Linked DNA regions of Homo sapiens: regions 1, 2 and 4 are each linked to region 3. Evidence: promoter capture Hi-C in 16 types of primary human blood cells and fetal thymus (Javierre and others, 2016). All regions are on one chromosome and are shown on one strand. The core of a region is centred on a gene start or on the middle of the fragment in contact, and the rest is flanking DNA. Distances in the headings are between cores, read along the strand shown.

Evidence for each region. Contacts are between HindIII fragments. The CHiCAGO score rates a contact against its expected background, and 5 or more counts as called.
Region 1: a contact is called between a fragment that was not itself captured here and the fragment with the promoter of STIM1 in region 3, in 1 of 17 cell types (naive CD8 T cells). The highest score is 5.3, in naive CD8 T cells.
Region 2: a contact is called between a fragment that was not itself captured here and the fragment with the promoter of STIM1 in region 3, in 17 of 17 cell types (total CD4 T cells, M0 macrophages, total B cells and 14 more). The highest score is 86.5, in total CD4 T cells.
Region 4: a contact is called between a fragment that was not itself captured here and the fragment with the promoter of STIM1 in region 3, in 11 of 17 cell types (activated CD4 T cells, total CD4 T cells, naive B cells and 8 more). The highest score is 10.1, in activated CD4 T cells.

The regions. Positions count from the first base shown.
Region 1 is chr11:3,709,523-3,712,222 of GRCh38, forward strand. All of the region lies in intron 20 of NUP98 (nucleoporin 98 and 96 precursor), which reads right to left. Among named protein-coding and RNA genes, the nearest start is that of CHRNA10, 39 kb to the left of the region's middle. The HindIII fragment of the contact is 1,287 bases long and covers 652-1,938 here.
Region 2 is chr11:4,068,736-4,071,435 of GRCh38, forward strand. STIM1 (stromal interaction molecule 1) reads left to right here. Exons shown (of 13, transcript NM_001382567.1): 6 at 1,291-1,468. Among named protein-coding and RNA genes, the nearest start is that of RRM1, 25 kb to the right of the region's middle. The HindIII fragment of the contact is 4,183 bases long and covers 1-2,700 here.
Region 3 is chr11:3,854,338-3,857,037 of GRCh38, forward strand. STIM1 (stromal interaction molecule 1) reads left to right here and starts at 1,327. Exons shown (of 13, transcript NM_001382567.1): 1 at 1,327-2,072. The coding sequence starts at 1,934. STIM1-AS1 (STIM1 antisense RNA 1) reads right to left here and starts at 1,241. Exons shown (of 2, transcript NR_183662.1): 1 at 1,020-1,241; 2 at 1-321. MIR4687 (microRNA 4687) reads left to right here and starts at 1,725; the gene lies at 1,725-1,804. RefSeq lists enhancers at 303-372, 582-1,527, 1,743-1,952, 2,103-2,182, 2,193-2,242 and silencers at 713-762, 1,243-1,302, 1,363-1,522. The HindIII fragment of the contact is 6,805 bases long and covers 1-2,700 here.
Region 4 is chr11:4,018,161-4,020,860 of GRCh38, forward strand. All of the region lies in intron 2 of STIM1 (stromal interaction molecule 1), which reads left to right. It also overlaps the pseudogene RPS29P20. Among named protein-coding and RNA genes, the nearest start is that of RRM1, 75 kb to the right of the region's middle. The HindIII fragment of the contact is 6,145 bases long and covers 1-2,700 here.

The DNA.
Region 1 (2,700 bases), core at 45-2,544, 140 kb before region 3:
CAAGATCCTGTCTCTAAAACAATAAATAAATAAATTAGCTGGCATGATGGCATGCACCTGCAGTCCCAGTTACTTGGGAGGTTGAGGTGGGAAGGATTGCTTGGTCCCAAGAGTTCAACCAGCCTGAGGAACATAGGAAAACTTTGCCTCAGAAAAAAAAAAAAAGTCATTAACTTAAATTCACTTAGTGAACAATGCTAAGTTTCTGAGCAAGCCAATTAGCCTGCCTTGATGTTACTGAACACAAGTTACACTTCAGTTATAAGGCTGAGGTACACTCTGGGGACTGTTGTGGGGTGGGGGGAGGGGGGAGGGGGGAGGGTATAGCTTTAGGAGATATACCTAATGCTAAATGACGAGTTAATGGGTGCAGCACAGCAGCATGGCACATGTATACATATGTAACTAACCTGCACACTGTGCACATGTACCCTAAAACTTAAAGTACAATAATAATTTAAAAAAAAAAAGTTTACAAAAAAAAAAAAAAAGGCTGAGGTAAAAACCTACACGTATCTCTACCTGAGTGCCAAAGGCCTGAGGTCTTTCAACATAGTTTTGAAACCTGATTGCACATTTCAACCACCTGGGGAGAAGCATTAAAATATAAATATGCCTGAGCCCCATGCCAAATCTGTGGAATCTAAGTCAAGCTTACCAGGGCATTGATGCAGCCAGCTGGAAATTGGATCCCAGACCAGGATTTTGAAACTAATGTTCTAACCACAGAACAAAATACTCTGCAACTACCTTAATTCATCTCTGTGACTAAGGTTTATCTGCCAACCAACATTTTCTCTAACCTAAAAGGTACAGGAGAGAAGATCACATGAAAATTTAGTTACCTTTATGTTTTCTGGTTGCTTAGATTTACTTGCTTTTTTTAAGAGCAAAAGCGAGGCTTAAGAACCAACTGGAAACAGGGGACTGACGATATTATATAAAAGGTAATGGAACAAATGTGACCATTAAAGAAAAATACACATCTTCCTAAATACCTAAAGAAACAGGCCTCTCTCCCCCAAGAAAAAAAGAAGCTGAAGTTTTGCAATCAACCTCTTTAAGGGGTGAGGTGATGGTATGCAGTCATCTTGACACAGAGATGAGAAGACTGCTATTTCCAGTATACTCAAACGGCACAAGTAGTTTCCCCATGCAAAGTAAAATGTAGGGTCTTTGGTGCTAATAACAAACCACTGGCATTTCCCATCAGCTTCACTTGGGTCAGTGAGCAATAAATATGAAAGAATTCTCTAGAGTCCTACATTTCTGCTCCAACATACCAAGCTCAAGGCCTTAGAAAATAATGCAAGTAAACAAAACCTAAAGTCTGGACATTTAAATACCTCTATCCATTTCTCTCATTTCTGCTCTTCCCAACCAAAAGGTCAAAGACCATTTCCACTTCCTCAGTCAAAGCTACTTGCCCATTTTAGGCTAGCCATGGTGACTCACGCCTGTAGTCCCAGCACTTTGGGAGGCCAAGGTGGGAGGATCACTTGAGGCCAGGAGTTCAAGACAACATGAGTTGAGGCCAACATGGCAAAATCCCCTCTCTACTAAAAATACAAAAAATTAGATGAGTGTGGTGGTATGCCCTGTAGTCCCAGCTGCTTGGGAGGCTGAGGAATGAGGCTGCTTGAACCTGGGAGGCAGAGGCCACAGAGAGCCGAGACTGCACCAGTGCACTACAGCCTGGGCGACAACTCTTTCTCAAGGAAAAAAAAAGCTACTTGCCCATTTTAAATCCTTACTACCTCTTTTTGCTAGAACCTTGATCTGAAATTTTTGGGTGCTCAATTTTTCAAAGAGCTCTCACAAACACAAGTGTCAATATAGGAGTTTATAGTTATTTTTCTACTATTTCTATTCTGGCAATTAAAGAACCTAGAAACTACTGTCAACATTACAAACATTTTCCTGTCTGTCCATAAATGAAGCTTTTCTTTTTCAGCTGGGCCAACTGGAAAGAGGTTATCTTTAAGATCCTACATATTACTTTTGTTACAGAAAATAAGGCCATCTGACTCTTTCCCTCAGAAATACATATATTTATAATAAATATATATATAAGGTTATAAAAAATTAGGAAAGAAGGAGATGATACAAAGCATATGACAGACAAAATGAATATGGATAACTGGAAAACCAAGTCTATAGCATTTCATTTGTCAATGGAGATTTCTTAGGGGCATTCTAAATGCTACCAAGATTATAAACATAAAAGTCAATATATTTCCAGTTTCCCACATTTATCATACCCTCCCCTCCCCTGTACGCGCAAACATGTATATACACACATTCTCCAGAAATGCCTCCTAAGAGATTATTTAATAAATCATAAAAACCACACATTTCAGCAGCCATAAGAATTATAGCATGGAAAATACCAAAGGTCTAGCTTTCAGCAGCTGAGAGGTAGAGGATGCTTTACAAAGAAATCCCGTATCAATGATACAAGTAATTGCGATAAACAATGTAGGCCCTAATCTCCCCAAGCCAAATAATAATTCATTTACATTCCCAAACTATTTTTCATAAAGATTATGTACTATTAAAATACAAATATCAAGGTTACCCGAAGTATAAGCAAACAACTTTAAAAAAATGGAGATTAAAAACCCTTTCAGAAAGCTAATTTAACTTTTAAAAAACCATGGAGGTAAAGAAAAAGATTAAACTGCACATCAGGTAGTCAAT
Region 2 (2,700 bases), core at 78-2,577, 210 kb after region 3:
ATCTGTCTTTGATCCCATCTCATCCCCATGTTCTGCTGCTCAGCCTTTCTGTGAGGAGCTATGATGGTAACTCTTCTTGTCAAACTATAGGCATCAGTATCATATGGTTTCTTTTTCTGGTGTCTTGACCTTCCCTTAACTTGGTGGCTCTACCTGGGTCCTTTTGGATTTCCACCAGCCCCATGTCCTTACTATGTCCAAGGATCATGCCAGTCCTACCTCCTTCTCTGCTGTTTAAGGGCAACTTGCTGTGCACAGAGGGTCATTAGCCCTGGCATAACTCCCTTTTTTCCCTCTTTCTCTGACTCCCACATCCAGGGCTCCTCTGAGCCCACAGCAAAACCTAGACAGAGGATGCAGGAGTAGCTGTCTCCTTCTTATAGTGCCCCTTTCAAGTCTTTTGTGCTGTGGCACAGAGCCCAGATCTGGTATACCAGGAACAATGTTAGTTCCAGAAATGCCTCTCTCCTGATTGGCTAAGTTTTTAGGATGTGGCTTTTGCTTTTTATCTTGTGGTGTCATTTCTTGTTTAACATTTAAATTTTGCTCTGGACAATGGGCATTCTTTGAACCCCAGCTGGTGGCTGGGGCCCTCGTGGTTCACTGAATTGCTACCAGGTGTTCTCTGAAAATAGCTCTGCCCCTCAATTTCTGGTAGGTATAATGTCTCATCCATATGAATGTATTCATGCTATCCTGTTCTAGAGTCTCTGGATTTCACAGTAGCCTAGAAATGTTCTCCATAGATTGAGACTTCTGGACCTTTCCCTGATCTGTGCCAAGAATGGCCTGGTAGTCCAGGATACCTAGTTCCTACAGTGACTTCAGTCCTACAGCCAGAACTGAGGCTTCTGGTGACATTGCTTTATATCCTTTATACCAGTCATCTCCATTTACCTACTGTGGAACTTTAGAATTGCTTACCCTGTATGACAGAAGCCACTACATCTTGGCATATGGGCTCATCCAGCCCAGAGATGGCTGGGGCATATTGAGAAGGCACTAGTTCTCTCCTCTTCACTGCATCTTAAGAAAGTGTGATTTAATAAGCATCCTGTATTGCTGTAAGGCCTCTCATTTCAAAACAAAGCCTTGGCTAGCAGAGAGATAGACATAGAGCTTACTGTAATAGTGTATGGCAAGTGTGTATCTAAGAAGAGAAACTAATTCCTTCTCAGTGGGAGAGTGTGTCTGTTATGGAAGGCTTCATAGAGGAGGGATGCAGTGGAGTCTGCAAGGCTAAGTGTGCAGTGGGCACCCTAACTCATCATGCCCTCCCCTCTCTGGCAGTGACTCGCCATAATCACCTCAAGGACTTCATGCTGGTGGTGTCTATCGTTATTGGTGTGGGCGGCTGCTGGTTTGCCTATATCCAGAACCGTTACTCCAAGGAGCACATGAAGAAGATGATGAAGGACTTGGAGGGGTTACACCGAGCTGAGCAGAGTCTGCATGACCTTCAGGAAAGGTAAGGCCTGCCCCTTCAGGAAAGGTGAGGCCCTGCCAGTTCTTGGGAACCTCCTATTTCCACCTGGGTGTGAGCCACTTGGCCCCTGAGACCTTGTCAGCATGGCAGCCCAGGCTGCATCATCCTTCCAAAACTGCATTGCAAGTTTAGGTTGCTGATATTCCAATTGCTATTGGGCAGTTATTCCTCCTGGGGAGAAACTTGTTTCTATCTTTTTTGCCTCTTAGCTTCAGAGGGAGAAATGTGTAGCTGCCAGAGGTCTTGAGCTTCCCATTGCTTGTTATGGGGTCATTCTTCCTTCTGCCTGTCTCTGGACTGCTTCTCCTAGCATATAAATAGATGTAATGAACTGTTCTTTACTGTTCCCCAAAGAAACCTCAAAACCTTCCTTCTTACTGTCCTTAGTTCTTTCTTATAAGGAGTCTAAATCTCATAAACACTAACTTGCTATATAACTTTGGATAAATTTCTTTCCCTCCCAGGATTTATTTCCTCATTGGTAATATGAAGGGATTGACCTTGGAGAATGCTAAACTCTCCTAGGAGAACACTTCCAACTCAGATGGTCTGGGATTCTGTTAAAATAAAATGTGACTTCAAAACTATGGCAGAAGATTTAACTGTGAAAAGAGAGTGCCCGTCAGTCAGTCAGTCAGTCCTGACGTCTAGGAACCAGTTCTGTGATGGCAGTTATGAGAAATTCACTGGTCCTGAGAAAAAAAACTTACACACCCACAAGAAGCAGCAGTGAGAGCACACTTAATGCAGACTTAGTTCCAGACTCAGCTTATAGGATAAGAATGCTAATGTCTAGAAAGACAAAGAGGTGGATGAGTGGATGTGGGACTCTGAGGAGGTAGCCTTTAAAGATGGGTAGCGAGGTCCTAGGTGTTAAGGTTGAGTGTATAGGGTGGGGTCAGATCCCTGGAACCTTAAGATGCATGTGGGGAAGTTAGTAGGATGCAGAAGGCAATAGAGAGTCAAATCAGGTTTTTTTGGTTGTTTTGTTTTCGAGAAGAGGAGAGGTCTATTCAAGACTGTCTTTTAGAAAATGATTCTGGAAGCCTAGGGACTCTAGTTGGGAAGTCTTTGCAGGAATTCATGTAAAAGGAAATGAAGTCTTGTCTTTTCATTTATTTCTATTTATTATTATTATTATTATTTTGACTCTGGGTCTTGCTCTGTTGCCCAGGCTGAAGTTCAATAGCATGAACATGGCTCACTGCAGCCTC
Region 3 (2,700 bases), core at 77-2,576:
ATGTATTTTTATATCAACGGCCTAACCCTTAAGCCAGGCAGCTGTTGGGCAAATTCGTGTTCCCAGTCTTCAGGGGCCTTGCTCAGAACAGGTAGCTGGTTTAGCACTGTCAGTCAGAGGAGGGACTGGGCCTGATCCTTTCCCCTGCGTCTGGTGCCAAGGACAGGGTAGGGCACAGAGGTTTCAGTCAAGATCTGCTGACAGCACGCTTGAGAAGAGAACAGGAAGTGCAGGCTTTGTTGAAGGAGGCTCAGGCGTGGCTCTGTCTTCTTTGGCGCACTCATTCTCAAGTCGCTGACACCTCCTCCACCAGAGAGGTAGCTGGGAGAATGAGATGCAGGGAGGAAGCATTTACAGGCCCCACCGAAAAACCTTAAAGGGCTGAGAGCTTGAGGGCAGGTAGGAAAAAGGGCTGTGAGAGCTAAGGGAGGGCATCCCACTTAGCTTGGAGGGGAAGGGAGGCGGGGTCGGGAAAGCAGATGGCACCCTTTAGCCCAGACTCAAGGAATGTGTAGGGGAATTTTAGCTAGAGTGGTTTGGACATTTCATTTTGCTTTCTGGCATCATCATTTCCTCAGAAAACACTCGCAGGCCCCAGTGGCCCTCGTGGGCCTCCCCCGGGGCGGGTCTTAGCTTCACTCGGCAACCCTCTGCAAAAGAGCAGGCCCTCCCAGGAGCGCCGAGTCCTGTCTGCAGTTTGCTGATTTTCCCACCAGGGGCCGCTGCGCATGGGCGACGAAGCGCGCGGGTTCCCAAGCCGCAGAGAGGCGGAAGCCGATTGGTTGTCAGGCGAGGCGCGAGGGCGGAGCCTGGGAACTGGCCGGGAGTTGGGGGCTGGGAGCTCGCCCCCGGGCCGAGCCGGGTCAGGCTGTTGTCGCCTCAGGCAGCTCCTGGGAGGCTAACGTCGTGTCCTGGGCCTCTGTTTAGACAGCTCTAGAACTGAGGCGAGTGGAGCAGCACCAAGGCCCGGAGATCGGGGCAGGGCAGCTGCTGTCGCCGCCGCCGCAGGCCTGAGTTACCTGAGTAACTGCGGGTCAGGGACCCGCCCGACGGCCCGCGGTTGGCGCTGGAGACTCTCGGTGGGGAAAGGGAAGCTGGGACTTGATCCTTTGCGCGGGATCCTGGCAAAGACTAGCGCGGGCCGGGGGTCCGGGAGAGCCCGCTAGGGGCGGGGATTCCGGGGAGCCGTCTTCACCGGTTATTCCGGGATCCAGCTGGGCGCTGGGGCTGGCCCGGGCTTCGCTGGGGACCGGGCGGCGCGGGGCGGGCGCGGAGACGCACGCCCCCGCCCGCCCCGGGCCCGCCCCGCGCCGCCCGCCCGCCTGGAAGCCGCTGTCCTGGGCCTGGCCGGTGTGCGTCCGCCTGCTGGACCTGGGCACCGCCAGCCGCCTGGGCACGGGACTGGGCGGGGGCGCTGACCTCGGCCTAGGAGGCCCAGGATCCCGGAGACGCCCGCGCCCTCAGGACCCTGCGGGTCGCACGCCCTCCCCAGCTTCTGCTGCTCGCCGCTCTTCGGCAGGGCGAGGTCAGGTGCCCCCTTCTCGCCTCTCTTCTCTTCTCTTCTCTTCCTCCTCCACTTCTGTGCCCGCGGAGACTCCGGCCGCCCCCTTCCGCAGGGGTGTAGTAATCTGCGGAGCTGACAGCAGCCCCGCAGCCACCCTGCCCGAAGTCTCCGGAAGCGGCACGAGCTCAGGCCGCCGCAGCCCCGGCGGACCCACTGTTGGACCTGAGGAGCCAGCCCTCCTCCCGCACCCAAACTTGGAGCACTTGACCTTTGGCTGTTGGAGGGGGCAGGCTCGCGGGTGGCTGGACAGCTGCGGAGCCGCGAGGGCATCTTGCCTGGAGACCGTCGGCTGCACTCCCGGGCTCCTGGCTTTGCCTCTGGGATCCCGAGGTGTCCACATCAGACGCATGTTGACTGAGACCTAGAGTCATGGATGTATGCGTCCGTCTTGCCCTGTGGCTCCTCTGGGGACTCCTCCTGCACCAGGGCCAGAGCCTCAGCCATAGTCACAGTGAGAAGGCGACAGGAACCAGCTCGGGGGCCAACTCTGAGGAGTCCACTGCAGCAGGTAAGGCCTTGCTGCGGGCTGGACTGGGCTGGAGGCTTTGGCTCAGGACTGAGTGGCCCGAAGTGGGCAAGTTGAAATCTAGGTTTGTACATGTGAGGTTCATGGAGGATTCACACATGGCACTGCCTGTTCCAAGTAGTTCAAGAAGTTCTTTCTGGTCAGTAGTCATGGCAAATGCCTGTATCTTTCCTGAACAACTTTCCTCATCCCCCGCACTCAGGATTTTTTTTGTTGGCAGTAAGAAGAAGCCTTTGGGGCAACTTGACCTTTTAGATCAGCAAGGAAAGACCCCATCTTAGGCCTACTTGTCTGGAAGAATGGCCTGGTGAGATGATAAGTTCATTGCTCCTATTCGGTTTTAGTACTGAGCAGCATGGGGGAGGTTGGGGCCACTTATGTTGGAAAGGGAAAGTTAAGGCTGGGCCACCTCTGTTGCCTGAAAGCCTGGTGTTCAGGTGTGCCTATTCCAACAACCGTGGGAACCCTAGTCCCACCCTTCCCTTAGGTAGTCTTGTCTCTTTGCTGTGCGCATTTGAAATATCCAGGCGGTTTCTTAGATGGAATCCTATTTACAACTAGGGTGTTAAATGGCCTTTTCTTGACATAGACATGATATAATTCCTGGGAC
Region 4 (2,700 bases), core at 81-2,580, 160 kb after region 3:
CAAAATTGGCTGGGCGCGGTGGCTCACGCCTGTAATCCCAGCACTTTGGGAGGCCGAGGCGGGTGGATCATGAGGTCAGGAGATCGAGACCATCCTGGCTAACAAGGTGAAACCCCGTCTCTACTAAAAATACAAAAAAAAATTAGCCGGGCGCGGTGGCGGGCGCCTGTAGTCCCAGCTACTCGGGAGGCTGAGGCAGGATAATGGCGTGAACCCGGGAAGCGGAGCTTGCAGTGAGCCGAGATTGCGCCACTGCAGTCCGCAGTCCGGCCTGGGCGACAGAGCGAGACTCCGTCTCAAAAAAAAAAAAAAAAAAAAAAAAAAAACAAACAAAATTAGCCAGGAGTGGTGGTGCATGCCTGTAATCCCAGCTACTCGGGAGGCTGAGGCAGGAGAATTGCTTGAAACTGGGAGGTGGAGGTTGCGGTGAGCCAGGTTTGTGCCCCTGCACTCCAGCCTGGGCAATAAGAATGAAACTCTGTCTCAAAAAAAAAAAAAAAAAAAGGCATAAAAGGGGGATCTGTGTTCTGGAACCCTGTGGCTTCTTTGAGTTCATCTCCTGCTGGTTACCACCTTACTCATTTCTCTCCAACGATACTGGCCTTCTTGTTATTCCTTGAACATACCAAGTATATTCTCTTGCCTCAGGGACTTTGCTTCTGCCCTTCTCCATTCTTGGGATACTCTTCTCCCAGTTATTCTGCATGCCTTTCTCCCACACCTCTTTTAAATATTTGCTTTGAAGTCACCTTCTTATCTTTTGCCTTGTTGCACTCCTGAAGGCAAAATGGATCACAAGCAGCTCTGCTGGAGCCACCCACAAAAATCTGGCCAGAGTTCTCGCTCTTGTTGCATCTGCTCAAACCAGCATGGTCTGATCTGGAAATATAGCCTCAATATGTGCCTCCAGTGTTGCCATCAGTACGTGAAGGATATAGGTTTCATTAAATTGGACTAAGTGATCTTCCTTGAATGGATTATCCAAGGCATCCACACAATGAAAAATCATATTAGCTGTTTGTACATAAAATAAAAATGAAGAAAATGAAGTCAGCTTCTTAATGACACCTTGATTCCTCTCATTAAAATGACAAATTGTGAATACCACTACTCTTGGCATCTCCTATTCCTCTTCCCTGCTGTTTTTTTCTTTATTTAAATTATATTTTATTTAAAAACATTTTTAAAATTTTATTTTATTTGTAACTGATACATAACAGTTGTACATATTGGCCAGGCATGGTGGCTGACGCCTGTAATCCGAGCACTTTGGGAGGCTGAGGCAGGAGGATTGCTTGAGCTCAGGAGTTTGAGACCAGCTTGGGAAACATAGTGAGACACCGTGTGTACAAAAAATTTAAAAAAATAGCTCGGTACCGTGGTGCACACCCATAGTCCAAGTTACTTGGGAAGCTGAGGCAGGAGGATCACCCAGCCTGGGTGACAGAGCGAGACACTGTCTCAAAAACAACAACAACAAAAAACCCCACCAACCAACCAACCATCCAAAAAAATTGTACATATTTATAGGATACAGTGTGATGTTTTGATACATGTATACAATGTATAATGATCAAATTAGGGGGTAAAATTAGTATATCTGTCATCTCAAACATATATCATTTCTTTGTGGTGAACATTCAAAATCCTTTCTTCTAGCTATTTTGAAATATACACTATATTATTGTTAACTAAAATCACCCTACTGTGCAATGGAACACTAGAACTTATAAACTTACCCTCCCAACTGTAAATTTGTACCCACTGACCAATCTCTCCCCATCTCCCTGTCTACCCTTCCCAGATTCTGGTAACCACTATCCTACGTTCTACTTCTATGAGATCAGCTTTTTAAGATTCCATATATGAGTGAGAACATGTGGTATTTATTTTTTGTGCCTGGCTTATTTCACTTAGCATAATGTCCTCGAGGCACATCCATGTTGCCACAAATGACAGAATTTCATTCTTTTTTTCTTTATGGCTGAATGGTATGCTGTTGTGTAAATATACGACATTTTCTTTAAACATTCATTTGCTGATGGGCCCTGAGGTTGATTCTATATCTTGGCTATTGTGAATAGTGCTGCAATAAACATGGAAGTGAAGATGTCTCTTCAACATGCTGATTTCATTTCCTTTGGATGTGTACCGAATAGTGGGATTTCTGGATCATATGGTAGTTCTATTTTTCATGTTTTGAGGAACCTCCATACTGTTTTATATGGTGACTGTACTAATTTACACTGCCACCAACAGTGTGTAAGGGTTTCCCTTTCTCTATATCCTTGGCAGCATTTGTTATTTGTTATTTTTTTGGTAATAGCCATACTAACTGGGGTGAGATGATATCTCATTGTGGTTTTGATTTCCATTTCCCTGATGATTAGTGATATTGAGCATATTTTTCACATATCTTTTGGACTTTTTTTTTTCTTTTTTCTCTGAGACAAGGTCTCGCTCTGTCACCCAGGCTGGAGTACAGTGGCATGATCACAACTCACTACAACCTTGATCTCCCAGGCTCAAGTGATCCTCTGACCTCAGGCTCTAGCTTCAGCCTATAGCTGGGACCACAGGCATAAACCACCACACCTGGCTAATTTTTTTTTTTTAATTTTTTGCACAGGCGGAGTCTCCCTATGCTGCCCAGGCTGGTCTCAAAATCCTGATCTCAAGTGATCCTCCCACTTTCGCTTC